2 separate regions of the Homo sapiens genome follow, and region 2 is linked to region 1. Evidence: promoter capture Hi-C in 16 types of primary human blood cells and fetal thymus (Javierre and others, 2016). All regions are on one chromosome and are shown on one strand. The core of a region is centred on a gene start or on the middle of the fragment in contact, and the rest is flanking DNA. Distances in the headings are between cores, read along the strand shown. Region 1 holds the start of THAP12 (THAP domain containing 12). Region 2 holds the start of FAM168A (family with sequence similarity 168 member A).

Region 1 (7,281 bases), core at 308-2,807:
AGCAAAAGAAATCAAGAACAAGCAAATACCAGAAGGGAACAGCCAAAAGTTTTTCAAAGTTATGGAGAACAGCAAGGAAAATGGTCCAAGAGTCCAGCAAAGAGTAATGAGGAGGGCCATGGCACATAGGGAGGAGTGGTGAAGACTGAAAAATACGTGAGCAGCCAAAGAAGGTGCCTAACAGTGAGGCAGCATCCTAGTTCTGGTTCAGCTAACTCACATTCCTCTCACCATGGGGTGAACCAATTCTCAGCTACCCTGGGGGGAAGGCTTGTTGAAGATGACGCCTGCAGAAGCTGACTGGCAGAGTAGTGGACTCTGGGATGGGATACCGGCAGGGGCATTTCCCCACCAGCTTCACCCTGGAGATAACTCCATGTTTCAGAACCTGTTACCTTTTTCCTCAAACATGAGCTATTTTTCCTAGTTTCCTTTGAAAGATCGGACCGAAAGTCAAGTTTTCGTGGTTTAGGCTCACCCTTCAAAACACCCGAAATAACTTTTGCAGAAATCTTCCTCATGTTCAAGTTTTCTTTCAAAATGAGCCTAACAGTTTCTTTGTCTAAATTTAACTCTTCAGCCATCATCCTCACGGTTAACTGCCTGTTTGAACAAACCAAGTCCTTGACCTTCTGGATATTGTCATCTGTTCGGTGGGTGACTGGACGCCCACTTCGGGCATCATCTCGAACATCTTCCCGTCCTTCTTTAAACCTTTTGTGCCAGTCAAAAACTCTGGCCCTTGACATGACTTCATCCCCATAAGCTTCTTTTAAAAGATGGTGGGTCTCACTTGCAGACTTGTTCAATTTCACGCAAAATTTGATACTAATCCTTTGTTCTAAATAGCGGTCACTCATTCTGGCACTGAACAACACAGGAACGTTTAACAGGCCACGACTGTAAGGGAAAGACGGACAGATCAATCTTTATAGGGCTGCAGGTGTAATCATATCGCTCTTCTTGCTCTTCTAGAAGCCTCGCCGGGAAAGAGTAATTGCTTTTATGAATTTTTGTCCCTCAGCTTCCAGTCGAGGCTGGGGAGATCCGTTCTGGGAAGCCAACAGTCGCTGCAAAGCTGGGAAAAATTAAATCGCCTACAACCACGTCTGCATCAAACCAGTGCACGCACATCTGCCGAGAGTTTGCCAGTCACCAAGGTCGCTCCGATTCCGCGGCCCTTAAGGAGTATATGGCGAATTCTGCAAGAAAGGCCTAAGTGGTGGCAAATTAAGCAAGCAAGAAGAGATGCATCGGTGATGTAACGTGCAAGCTCGCCCTAGATCTGCAGAAACCCGCGCACGCCAAACCTACCGGAGCAGCCCAGGAACCGCCTGCTCTAGCGTCCCGGGAGACAGGCGCGCATGCGCAATTCTCTCTCCCCGCGGATTAGACTGTGCGCAGTCGCACTGCGGCGGCGCGCGCCAGGTCCCGCCTCCGCCTCGCCACACCCCGGCAGGCGCGCTTCCTTGCGCGTGCCCGCCTGCTGAGAAGGCGGAAAGGAGGGGCGGGGGAGGAAGGCTGAGGGAAGAGAGGGCACCCCCGGGCGTCAGGGTGCATTGTGGGAAGGAGGCGGCAGCGTCTCGGGCGGGCGGGAGGTGCACCAGCGGCGGCGGCGGCGGTAAATCCTCCCGGCCGCTCACAGCACTGTGGAGCCGCGTCCCCAGCCCGGCCTCGGACCGCGGCACCCCTCCTGGCCCTCGCGGCTTCTAGCCCGCCCGCCCCTCCCCCGCGCGTCGGCCCTGCCGAGCCGGCCGGCCGGCCTGGCTCCCCTCCCCGGCCCCGACGGGCGGGCGGACTGCCCTGAGGAGGCGGGGAGGGGAGGGCTGGGCCGGCCGGCGGGCGGGCGACGATGCCGAACTTCTGCGCTGCCCCCAACTGCACGCGGAAGAGCACGCAGTCCGACTTGGCCTTCTTCAGGTTCCCGCGGGACCCTGCCAGGTAAGCGGCGGGCGCAGAGCGGGCGGCCCGGGCCCACCTTCGCGGTGAGCGCTGCCAGCCGCCGGCCCCTGGCGGGCTCCCGGGCTGGCTGAGAGGGGCGCAGGAGGCGGGCGCAGCGCACTGCCGTCGACCCCAGCGTTGGACCGAGATGGGGAGCCGGCCCCGAGCCGTGGGCGGGCGGGCGTCCGGGGACCTCGGAGCACGTGCGCTGGTGGGGGCTCTGCGCGGAGGACACCACCCCAAACGCGAGGGAGCTGGGGCGGCGCGCGGACGCGGGATGCTGTGGGTTCTCGCCGTGGCTCACTTGCTGTGTGACCTCGGGGGAGTCGCTTTCCTCTCTGGGCGTTAGTTTCCTTAGCTGTCAAAAGAGAGCAGGACTCTATGGTTGTGGCCACTGGGGCCTTTCCCTCTCCTTGCCACCACCCCCGGGACAGTGTTTCTGTTTTGAGTCCCGCTACCTTCTTTCATCTCATCGCAACTGCTTTCTCCTTCGGACTTGTCATTGCACGGTTCAGGATTCATTTTCTGGCTGTCACCGTTACTCATTTTCTCGCTTGGGTATTGTAGGGATAACAGAGGGTGTACGCGTGAGGGCGTGGAAATTGGTATTGGAACCTCTTCCTTCGGATAACCCCCACACACTGACATATTTAGGGAATGATAGCATAGGGACTGTGTTTGAAAGGCTGAGATGTTTCATAGGCCTGTCTTGTTGGTTCATTCATTTAAAATCAATGCCTACTATGTGCCGAGCGCAAATGTTAGGTGCTGGGAGTTCATGGGTGAATAAGGGTGTCACTGCTTGCAGAAAGCTCTCAGTCCAGTAAGGGAACAGGTGCAGCAACGGGCGACTATAATTTATGTTATTTATTAATTAGTTCAATTAATTATTGAAGGTCTACTTGTGTTGGCATTGTTGTGAGCAGTGGGGGTTACAGATGAACAAATCGAAGTCCTTGCTTTCATGAAGATTACATTCTAATGGGGGGGGAATAAACAAGTAAAATACGTAGTGTGTCGGATGATGATAAATACTGTGGAGAAAAATAAACAAAGGTTAGAGGGTAGGGGAATAAGTAGTATCAAGGGACGCACAATTGCTATTTTAAATACAGTGATTAGAGAAGGCCTCACTAAGAAGGTGAATTTGAGCAAAGACCAGGTGAAGGGGCCAGCCATGGAGATACCTTGGGCAGCAGCATTCCAAAGAAGGCAAAGACAGGGCAACCAGGAGTCCAGGGAGAGGGACTGGGAGAGAGGTGAGATGAGACCAGAAAGGTGTGTGTATGGTAGGGGCAAATTCTTTAGGTAGGACCTTGTAGGTCTTGGAAGGCACTATGGTTTTTATTATGAGTGAAATAGGAAGTCATTGAAGGGTTTAGAGCAGAGACTTAAATTTTAACAGGATCAGTGGCTGCTCATTAGATTGTGGGGAGGCAAAGGTGAAAGCCGGAAGACCAGTTAAAAGGCTGTTGTAATAATCCAGATTAATAGAGGAGGAGATGGTAAATTTGAGATATGGTTTGAAGGTGAAGCCAACATCATTTGCTAATGGTTTGGAGGTAGATTGTAAAAGAAAAAGAGAACTTAAGGACGACTTCAAGATTTTAAAAATCTATGTTGGCCAGGTTGGTCTTGAACTCCTGGCTTCAAGCAGTCCTCCTGTGTCGGTCTCCCAAAGTGCTAGAACAGGCTCTGAGCCACCGCGCCCAGCCGACTTCAAGATTTTTAACGTGAGCATTTGCTGAGATAGGGAAGACTGGGAAGAGCAGGTTTGGTAGAGGAATACTAGAAGTTTGGGTTTGAGAGACCTGATAGACATTCAAGAATAGATGTCTAGGCCGGGCATGGTGGCTCACACCTGTAATCCCAGCACTTTGGGAGGCCTAAGCAGGCGGATCACTTGAGGTCAGGAGTTCGAGACCAGCCTGGCCAACATAGGGAAACCCTGTCTCTATTAAAAAATACAAAAATTAGCTGAGCCCAGTGGTGCGTGCCTGTCCAGCTACTCAGGAGGCCAAGACGTGAGAATCGCTTGAACCCAGGAGGCAGAGGTTGCAGTGAGCCGAGATCGTGCCACTGCACTCCAGTCAGGGTGACAGAACAAGACTCCGTCTCAAGAAAGAAAGAATAGATGAAAAAAAAAAAAGAATAGATGTCTTTCTTCATACCATATACAGAAATGAACTCCAAATGGCCTATACTTTTATTGAGATCAAAGGCCTAAATATAAGAGCTATGTCATTAAACTTTTAGGAAAAAAATACAGATAAATCTTCATGACTTTAGATTTGGCAGCACATTCTTGTTTGTTTTTTGTTTTTTTTGAGAGTCTCACTCTGTTGCCCAGGCTGCAGTGCAGTGGCACAGTCTCAGCTCACTGCAACCTCTGCCACCGATGTTCACAAACTATTCTACTCACTCAGCCTCCCAGGTAGCTGGGATTGCAGGCATCCGCCACCATGCCTGGCTAATTTTTGTATTTTTTTTTAGTCAAGACGGGGTTTCGCCATGTTGGCCAGGCTGGTCTCGAACTCCTGATCTCAGGTGATCTGCCCGCCTTGGCCTCCCAAAGTGCTGGGATTACAGGTGTAAGCCACCGTGCTTGGCTGGCACCACATTCTTAGATATGACACCAAAATACATGCAGTAAAAAGAAAAATAGACTAATTGGACTTCATCAAAATTAAACTTTTGTGTATCAAAGAACATTACCAAGAAAGTGAAAAGAATGGAAGAAGGTACTTGCAAATAATACATTTGATCTGGGTCCAGTATCCAGAATATATAAAGAACTCTTACAATTCAGCAACAAAAAGACAACCCAATTTTAAAATAGGCAAAGGACTTCTTTCTTTAAACAGAAGATATAAATGGCTAAAAAGCACATGAAAAGATGCTGAGCATCACTCGTTATTAGAGAAGTTCAAATCAAAACCACAAGTGGCAGTTAGATGTAGAATTACTGTGTGTCCCAGCAATTCCATTCCTAGGCGTATATCCAAAGAATTGCAAACTGATATTCAAAAAAACCAAATGTACACACATTCATAGCAGCACTATTCGCAATAGTCAAAAGGTAGAAACAAGCCACGTTTATCAGTGCTTGAATGGATAAACAAAATGTATATCAATACAATGAAATATTAGCCATGAAAAGGAATGAAGTGCCAGTACATACTACAGTATGGGTGAACCTCAGAAACATTATGCTAAGTGAAAGAAGTCAGATACAAAAGCTTATATGTTGTATGATTCTATTATATTAAATATCCAGAATAAGTAAATCCATAGAGATAGAAAGCATATCAGTGGTTGCCTGGGGCTGGGCGAAAGGGAGAGTGGGGAGCAACTGATTAATGGTTACAAGGTTTCCTTTTGAGGTGATGAAAATGTTTTAGAATTAGGTAGTGGTGATGGTTGCAGAACATGATGAATGTGTTAATTGCCATTAGTTTTTTACTTTAAAATGGTTAGTTTTATGTTATGAGAATTTCACCTCAAAGAAAATAGATGTCTTGAAGAGAGAATAGGATATACAAGTCTGAAATTCAGAGACTTTCAAACCGGAAATTGTAAATATGGGTGTTCTCAGTTTATAGAGGGTATTTAAAACCGTGGTACGGGTTAAGGTTATCTAAGGAGTGAGCAAAGAACAGATCTGAGGATTGAGTCCTGGGGCATTCCCAGTGTTTTAAGTTCCGAGACATGGGAAAGAACTCGCTCAGTACAGTGAGGAGTAGCAGTTGGGAACAGAGGAGAGGAGCATCTTAGTCTGACTTGGCCTTGCCCCATTATGCGTTATCTTCCTTTTACCCAAATTTTAGCCCAAAGACATTCTTACAGGTTTATTTCACTTCCATAATGAGGGCACCCCTAGTCAGTTCTGGACCACAGGTCATTTGTATTAATATGTAGTGAATCCTGTTTTGACTACACTCCTTAAGGGGAGTATAGTCTATAGGGGTTTACAGTTTCAGATTTGAAAGAAGTGTTTAGATCTAGTGAAATCTCACTTGAAATACTGGAATTTTCTCAATAATAGTGACTTTTATCATTTTTAGGGTTATTATCCCTTTTGAGAATCTAGCATAAGGACTCTTACCTGAAAAAAAAAAAAAAACAAAAAAAACATAGACACAATTTAGCATTCGAAGACAAAGATGTTTATGGGCCTTTATAGGCCCTGTGCATTCCTGACAGATGGGCATCTTTGCCCTTGCTAAAACACCTCTAATGATAGTCCTCCCCTTTGTGAGAAGACACGTGATGATTCTGGACGCTTTGGCTGTTGTTTCTTCCTTGTATTGAGTGGACATCTGCCTCCTGTAATTGAGGCCTTGGAGGTCCTAGTTTTGTTCCCAGGATCACACGAAGTCTCTGCCCTTTTCAACGTTAGACTCCTTTGAATGCTTCAAGACCAAATCATGAATTTCTTTTTAAAAAGATGTTTATTGAGATGCAATTCACATATAATTCACCCATGTAAAGTGTACGATTTGGGGTATATACATTAATTTTTAAAATTTTGGTAAAATACAACAGAATTTGCTAATTTAACCTTTAAGTGTGCAATTCAGTGGCGTTAATTACATTCACAGTGTTGTGCAACCTTCTCCACTATTTTCAAAACTTTTTCATTTATCCCAAACAAAAACTGTAACCATTAGGCAATAACCTCCCATTCCCCTGCCCTTCCAGCCTTTGGTAACCTCGAATCCACTTTCGGTCTTTATAAATTTGCCTGTTCTAGATTCCTCATATTGGTGGAATCATACAATATTTCTCCTTTTATGTCTGGCTTGTTTAACTTAATATGTTCAAGGTCTTTTTATCCAAATCAAACCTCCTCGTACTACATGATTTTAAGTTCTACTGTATTTGATAGTTTCCATTTCACTGTGCCCAGTGTTATTTATAACAAAGAAGTAGTTTCCAGAGGTGTTATTGAATTAATAACAGTATTTTTAGGGTTATTAGTTCTAACCCACCCCCCCCCCACCTTTTCTTCTATAAACAGGTTGTAGGGAAGGTTGATAAAAGGTGACATTGCCAGTCTAGTCTTCAAATGCTAACATTGTTAACAAACAATAAAGATGAATATATTTAATGCTATTAAAACAGTACATTTCCCAGTCATCAGTTATAAATTCCATGCATGCTTTTAGAAACAGCTATTTAGAAATAATTTAAACTTCAAGAGTGTAATTAATAAAGTGTATGGTGTGGAATCACATACCATAATAGTTCTTATTGTTTTAGAAAACGTGGCATTAATATGCTTCTTTTTTAAAAAAGTGAAATAATCAACCCAGCTTAGGTCAGTGACACGGTTTAAGT
Region 2 (7,281 bases), core at 1,997-4,496, 2.8 Mb after region 1:
AGCTGAGGGGCATGCTGGGAGGTGTAGTCCAGAGACAGAGACGAGAGGGAGAGGGAGAGAGGGAGAGAGGGAGAGAGGGAGAGACAGAGAGTGTGTGTGTGTGTGTGGGCGGGGGGAGGGGGGTGTCTATGCAAAGAGGATGGAGACGCTGCGAGTACGGCCCCTTGGGGATGGGGCCTCGGGCGACCTGACTTTCCTCACAGGTGGTCTTTGAGTCTACAAAATTCGCCAGCGGATGGTTGGCTTTATTCCACTGTCCGTGACCGGAGAGGGCGCGGCCCCTCTGCACCGGGCTCGCGGCGGGAGGCGCAGGCCGCGCGCGGGCTAAAGCAGGGCATGCCGGGAGTTGTGGTCCCGGCGCTCTGAGGCTGTGGGACGTGTCGCGGCGCCGCGCCGGCTCCTCCTTCCCTGCCCTTCTGAGCGGTCCCCCGCCTCCTCCCTCCGCCTCCTCCTCCCTCGCCCGCAGCCGAGCGTCCCCTCCCCCCACCCGTCGGGCTCCTCGGCGGCTACTGCAGAGGATTCAGAGCCGAGTCGCTGAGGAGGAGGCTCCGGTCCCCGCGCGCCATCCGCCACCCTACTGGACACGGGCGAGAGCGTCGCCGCCGTAGCCTCCGGAGAAGACAAGGGCATCGCCGCCTCAGCCGCCGCCGCCGCCGTTTTCGCCTGCAGCTGCTCACCGGTGAGGAGACTCCCCCCGCCACAGGGTCCGCTGGTCCTGAGTCTGGGCCGGTGGCGCTGGCGAGAATGAGAGGGGAGGCTGCGGAGCCCCCGTGCAGGTTGGGGGGAGGGGGTTGAGGTCGCGATGGAACGGCGGGCTGGCGGGGGAGACTTGTCCAGGCGCTGGCCGGGGGTGGGGTGAGGGTGGGACCCAAGCAGGTTGGGGGGCGGGCGACAAGGGAGGAGGACTTTTGATGGAGAATAACCCAACCTGGGACAGGAGAGTGGGGTGGGGGCGTCGGGTTGGAATTCGGGATGGTCTTGGGGCGAGGTGGAAGATGAGACTAGGGTGGGATGGCTTTTAATGGGGGAGGGGACTGAATGAGGGTGGTGATTTGGGTTTGGCCTGGAGCAGTTGACAGCTTGGGATCTGAGCTGGGGTGAGGGGCAGGGGAATGATTTCAACGGAGAGTGAGTGGCATGTACAGGGTTGGTTAGGGCCCTGCGTAGTGTTAATTCAGAAGGGTGGAATTTGGGGTGGACCTGGGGCAGGATGATGGAGGTGGCAGGAGTTGGGGGTGAGGGGCTTGGCATGGGTTGAGACCCAAGCTTGAAGTGGGTGTTTGTCATCTGGGGCTGGTGGAATTTGTGGAGACTTATGGAATAGCATGGGTTAGGATAGAGCAGAAGAGTGCAATTTGGGGGTTTCCTGGGGTGGGCTGATGGAGGTTGGAATAGGAGTTGGTGGAGGTGGGACATTCAGTGAGGGGAGTGTGATGGTGAGCTGGCAGGAAGGGGCCACATTGGAAGTCAGGCCCGAAATGGGAGGACAGGGATGGAAATGGAGTGTGGGGCACAGTGGGTTGGATTTAGGGTGATCTTACAATCACTGGAAAGGGCATGGTGGCTCCTTGGTTGCAGAGTCAAGGCAGAGGGCACATAAAACATCACTGGGCTGCTTTCATTGAAAGGATAGCGGCAGGGGTGAGCAAAGTTGGGGGATGGTATCTTGAAGAAAATATCCCTTGGCCAAGGTGGCAGAGGGAGTTTTGGAGAAGGACTTTCGGAGATGAGCTGGTAGGCCTGGGGAGGTGGTTGCTGATGGTGAGGTGGCACAGGGGAAATTTAAGGAATGGGAGACCTGGAGCTGTTGGTATGGATGGGGCAGAGAGGATGGAGAGGGACAGTGAGCTGTGCTGGAGAGCAGGGGGGAATTGGGTTGGATTATTTTGGTGGTGAAGGATTGGGGTGGCCTCCAAGAGACACATGAGGGTTAAGGGTTGGAATACTTAAATGAACAGCCTTGGTGGCTGTGGTTGGGTGAGAGGCAGTAAGGCTGTTAGAGGGGACTTTGCAGGGGACACGGAAGAGACCTTCTCATTCTTAGGGGCCATTTTAATCTGTTCGGGTGATGTTTTTGTTTGTTTTATTTATATTAGTAAAATTTGGAAGTCAAGTCAGCCCAAAGGGTAAAGTTGAAAGGGGATTTAGTTAAGGTAGAATTAAGGAGGGGAGGGTGTCTTCTGTTATTTGTATATCATAAAAAGTAAGTTGGGGGAAAAAAGCATACTTCCAAACTAAAGGTGGGAGAAGATAAACTGGAATGTAATGGATATCTTTCTATATGATGTCTCTGCCTTTTCTTTTCCCCTCTCCTCCTGGTGTATTTAAAAACTAGCCAGGCATTTTGAAATTTAAATAGATTTGATGAGCTTGAGATTGTTAAGGGTGCATTCCTTGCTTGAGAACTAATGAGTGAGCCTGAAAAATATGAGACTGAATTTATTTTGTAGGTAGGTAACAAGCACATAGGCAAAAAGAGCTTGGGCCTTTTTTACCCCCTCTTTAAATTGATTGCTTGAAGACGCCATTTGTTAGTGTCCTGGTTTGCAAGGCAATTAGGCCCATCATTGTATTGCAGGCTAATAATCCTGAGATGAGTCTTGGCACCACCGCTTTATGTAAACAGAGAAGACAGGAAATATGGAAATGTCATAAATATTCATTGGTGAGATGGTTTGGTACTGATGGAGTTTTTCATATGATTGTCTTTTGACATTGATAAGATTTAGAATAATTGGACTGTATTTCTAAAGATTGAATTTTCTTCCAAAGGAATTCAGGTGATCAGAATTCTGTCAGATGTGAATAAATAAAGCATATTGAGTCATTTTTATTTTATTTTTTGGGGAATGATGTTGATGTAGTCGCATTGTATTAACTACAGAAACAGCATCTCCACCTATTCATCAGAAATTCGATTTAAACCTTAGCGATATGCTCATTCTTAGGGCAGAACGATGATAATGGAAGGTACACAGGAGTGCAAATGGAGGGAACATCTTTAGAGAAACAGTTCTATGGACCTAATTGCATTAACTGTGATAATATGTTAAACATAAAGTGGCTGTTGATTAGAGCTCAGACTGAAAAAAAATGAGGAGGGATGTAAAGAAGATAAAATTGGCACCATTGGGATCGAAATAATTCTTTTTATTTTTGTTCAAGCTTCAGAATTTAGCTCGCAAACAAACCATTTTCCTTGGCTTTCACGATTGAGCATATAAAAATACCATTTAGAATCTTTTTTTTTTAGCTCCAAAATGGGCAGAATGATGGAACGTTGGACTTATCCTTTGAATTGAAAGTGTTTTGTAATGAGGAAGCTTTCTGTATTATAATAAAGATCAGGTTTGAGCAGTTACCTGTAATTCAGTGAGACTGTAATCTAATGTGAGCATTTCTCTCATAACTTTACTCTGAGGTCTAGACGTTGTTTTTGCAGATCTGCAGGCTTGGTCTAGAGGTGGGATGTTTATATTAAAGCCCTAGCTTTTGAAAGCCCAAAATGAAAAGTGCCTGGGAGAAATGTGTTGGTGGATTTTTTTTTTCCACAGCCGTGGTTACCTGTGTAGTAGTAATGTGTTTTTGTATCTTTACCTCATTTGATCCTCCCGATATCTTGGTGAGAAGAGAGCAGATGGAGGTATTGATAGACAGAAGCCTTTGTGGAACGAATAGCCCATGAGTTTAGGAGTTGAGTCCCAGATTCAAATCCCAGTTCTACTACTTGAAAGCTGAGTGATTTCAGTCAAGTCATTAAAAACCTTTCAGATGGCCAGGCGTGGTGGCTCACGCCAGTAGTCCCAGCACTTTGGGAGGCCGAGGTGGGTGGATCACTTGAGGTCAGGAGTTTGAGATCAGCCTGGCCAACATGGCAAAACCCCATCTCTACTACAAATACAAAAATTAGCTGGTAGCACGTGCCTGTAATCCCAGCTACTTGGGAGGCTGAGGCAGGAGAATTGCTAGAACTGGGGAGGTGGGCAGTGAGCCACGATTGCGCCATTGCACTCCAGCATAGGCAACAAGAGCGAAACTCTGTCTCAAAACAAACAAACAAAAAACAAACAAAAAACCTTTCATATTTAGTGGTAATGGCTGCAAAACATTGTGAACATAGTTAATACCACTGAATTGTACACTTAACTTTGGTTAAAAAGGTAAAAATACACACACAAAAAAACCTCAAAAACCAAAAAAACTGGCCAGGCATAGTGGCTCACGCCCATAATCCCAGACTTTGGGAGGCTGAGCTGGGAGTATTGCTTGAGCCTAGGAGTTCGAGACCAGTGAGGGCAACATAGGGAGACCCGTCTCCACAAAAAAAAAAAAAAATTTGCTGGGTGTGGTAGCGTATACCTGTAATCCCAGATACTCAGGAGGGAGGTGGGAGGATTGCTTGAGCCAGGGAGGTCAAGGCTGCAGTGAGCCATGATCGTGCTTCCCTGCACTGCAGTCTGGGTTACAGAATGAGACCCTGTCACACAATCAAACTTTCATACTTCACAAGGCTGTCAAGGGGAACAAACCAGTTCATGTCCTGAAAACACTGTACATATATGAAATATCTGTTCACTATTTATTTATTTAATGAATGTCTGCTAAGTGCCAGGGGAAATAAAAATGAACAGAAAGCAGTTGTCAAGGAGCTTTCAGTGTCATGGGAAAGATAGACAAATACGGTGAGAAAAGTGAGGCAAAATGAATGCTATGGTTAAATGTGGGTTTTGAAGTCTGTCTACCACTTACTATTAGCTGTGTGACGTTGGGCACAATGGGCTCATCTGTAAAGTGCGAATAATAGAATTAACATCATAGGATTGTTTTGAGGATTAAATAAGATAATCAATGGAAAGCATTTCACACAATATGTTTTATAGTACACATTAAAAAAATTAGTTGTTGCCTTTATTGTTAGAAAGATAGGCAGAGGCTAGAATGGTGAATAGCCTTGTGTGCCCTACCAATGAGTTCTTAGTATTGTGGTATTTATTAATGAGGTATGATTTTGTTTTATGATCTCATGCATATTTGCATGTTTACAGTCTAGGAACTTTAAACAGTTCTTTAAATGCCAAAGTCCTAAACAGATGTTAGCTGTTAGCTTCCTCATTAATAAAATAAGAAGAAAAATTATGCTCTGAGAGGTTAAATGACTTGTTTAAGGTTACACAGTCAGTGGAAAAGTCTGGGTTACAGCCCCCAAATTCTAATTTGTCATCCCCATTTATATCCTTTTTTTAAATTGTAAAATATGTCATATGTATAAAAGTATATTTAACATAAACCCACAACTTAAAGAATAACAAATTGAAGGCTTTTCTACTTGCTACCCAGCTTAACAAAAAGGAGATTTCTAGTACCTTTAAAGCCTCTTGTGAGGTCCTACTTGATTGAATCTCCCATCTTCTCTCTCCCTCAGAGATAAACAGTTTCCTAAATTTTATGTGAATCATTTCTTTGCTTTTCTTTATACTTTTACCAAATATGTGCATATCCCTAAACAGTATATTTTTTACCTTTGCAACTTTTTATAAATAGAATTATAGGATAAATATTCTTCTGACTTGCTTTATTCTTATTCTTATTTTTTAACTTTTAAAAAAGCTTTATTTCTTCCACCATTAAATAATGTGTGCTCATGATAAAAACTAGAAATTACAAAAAGTAAAAAGAAGCATAAGTATTGTTTTTAGTCCTATTACCCAGTAACACTTTTTTTTTTTTTTGGTAGAGACAGGGTCTCGCTATGTTGTCCTGGTCAAGTGATCCTCCTTCCTCGGCCTCCCAAAGTGCTTACAAATGCAGGCATGTGGCACCATGCCTGGCTGGCAAATGCTTTTTGTAGAAAATATTTTGTGCCACATATGGCCTCTGTTGTTCTTTCTCCTCCCTTCCACTCCCCTTCCTTTTTGTCTCCCCATCTCCCTCCCCGTTCTTCTCCTTCCTGAAGCCCCTCCTCTTGCTTCTCCCCATTCCTTCTTCTCCCTCCCCTTCTCTTTCTCCTCCTTTTATGTGGTTTTAAGAATGTAAAACTCACAGGCCATACAAAAATAGGCCATGGGCGGGCCATAGCTGGCCGACCCCTGGTACGTTAACAGAAATCAACTCAAAGTTGTAAAATATTGAAGAGGAAAGAGACTAAACCAAGTTCATATTTCTTTCTCTATTTTGTTAAATTTACTTCCTTGGACAGTTATGCATATCTTTAGTATTGAAAACAATGGTATAGAATTTTTTTGTCAAATTATGTTTATCTAAAAGTTTAACATTTTATTAAATGAGCCATTATTTTCTGTATGAAGACACTCTGAGAAAACCTCAGTTTATAAAGTTCCAATACACCTCCTCCTCCTGCCAGTTAGGCAGGTGTCTGGGTCCTTTCAGAATATGCCTATTTTATGATGATATAGGTTGTGCTTTTTCTTAGATATAGACATTTTGAAGGAACCCTGAGATGATATATTTTTCACAGTAAACTTCAATCCTTGGCTACTTGAGATTATGATCTTGATTTGCCTTCTGATCATGTCGCTCAAGCTTGACGATTTCTGCTAACTTGTATTTCTTTTCTAGCCTCTGTTTTATAATTTTTCTAAGTATTTTAGTTTTCTAATGTGTCTTCCTCTATCTTTTATTTTGAGTTGATAGCAAATGTCTCTATCAGTAGATAACAGCTATGCTATTTATACTTATGCAAATATAATGGCGCCATTTTATATATAGTTCTTAGGTTGGTCATGTGGCATTATTTTCATTTTAAGGATGAAGAAATTAAGACTCTAAGAGGGTAGCTGGGTGCAGTGGCTCACACCTGTAATCCCAGGATTTTGGGAGGCCAAGGTGGGAAGATCGCTTGAGCCCAGGAGTTCAAGACCAATCTGATCAACATAGTGAGATCCAGTCTCTACAAAAAACAAAAATATTATCTGGATGTGGTGGCGTGCACCTCTGTTCATAGCTATTTTGGAGGCTGAGGTGGGAGGATCACTTGAGCCCAGGAATTTGAGGCTACAGTGAGCTATGATCATACCTCTGCTCTCTAGCTTGGGCAAGACTATATCTCAATAAATAAATGAATAAAAAGATTCAAGAGGGTAATTTGTCTTAGGCCATAAGACAAGTAGGGAATTAGCAGGGAAAGACAAAAGGTACCTAACATTTGAGTGTCTATGGCAGGCAGTATGCTGGGTGCTTTCTTTTCCTTATAGATAGAATTTAATCCTCATATTTGTGTCGTATAAGGAATTGTGATCATTTTACAGAAGAAGAAACTGAAGC

What was found. Contacts are between HindIII fragments. The CHiCAGO score rates a contact against its expected background, and 5 or more counts as called.
Region 2: a fragment that was not itself captured here is called in contact with the fragment with the promoter of THAP12 in region 1 in 1 of 17 cell types (non-activated CD4 T cells); the score reaches 7.1 in non-activated CD4 T cells.

What each region holds. Positions count from the first base shown.
Region 1 is chr11:76,375,408-76,382,688 of GRCh38, reverse strand. THAP12 (THAP domain containing 12) reads left to right here and starts at 1,557. Exons shown (of 5, transcript NM_004705.4): 1 at 1,557-1,941. The coding sequence starts at 1,853. GVQW3 (GVQW motif containing 3) reads right to left here and starts at 1,366. Exons shown (of 2, transcript NM_001347885.2): 1 at 396-1,366. The coding sequence starts at 860. RefSeq lists a silencer at 1,279-2,208 and an enhancer at 1,851-2,352. The HindIII fragment of the contact is 4,414 bases long and covers 769-5,182 here.
Region 2 is chr11:73,591,321-73,598,601 of GRCh38, reverse strand. It overlaps FAM168A (family with sequence similarity 168 member A), which reads left to right and starts at 490. Exons shown (of 8, transcript NM_015159.3): 1 at 490-679. RefSeq lists silencers at 47-276, 407-536 and an enhancer at 428-1,156. The HindIII fragment of the contact is 158 bases long and covers 3,168-3,325 here.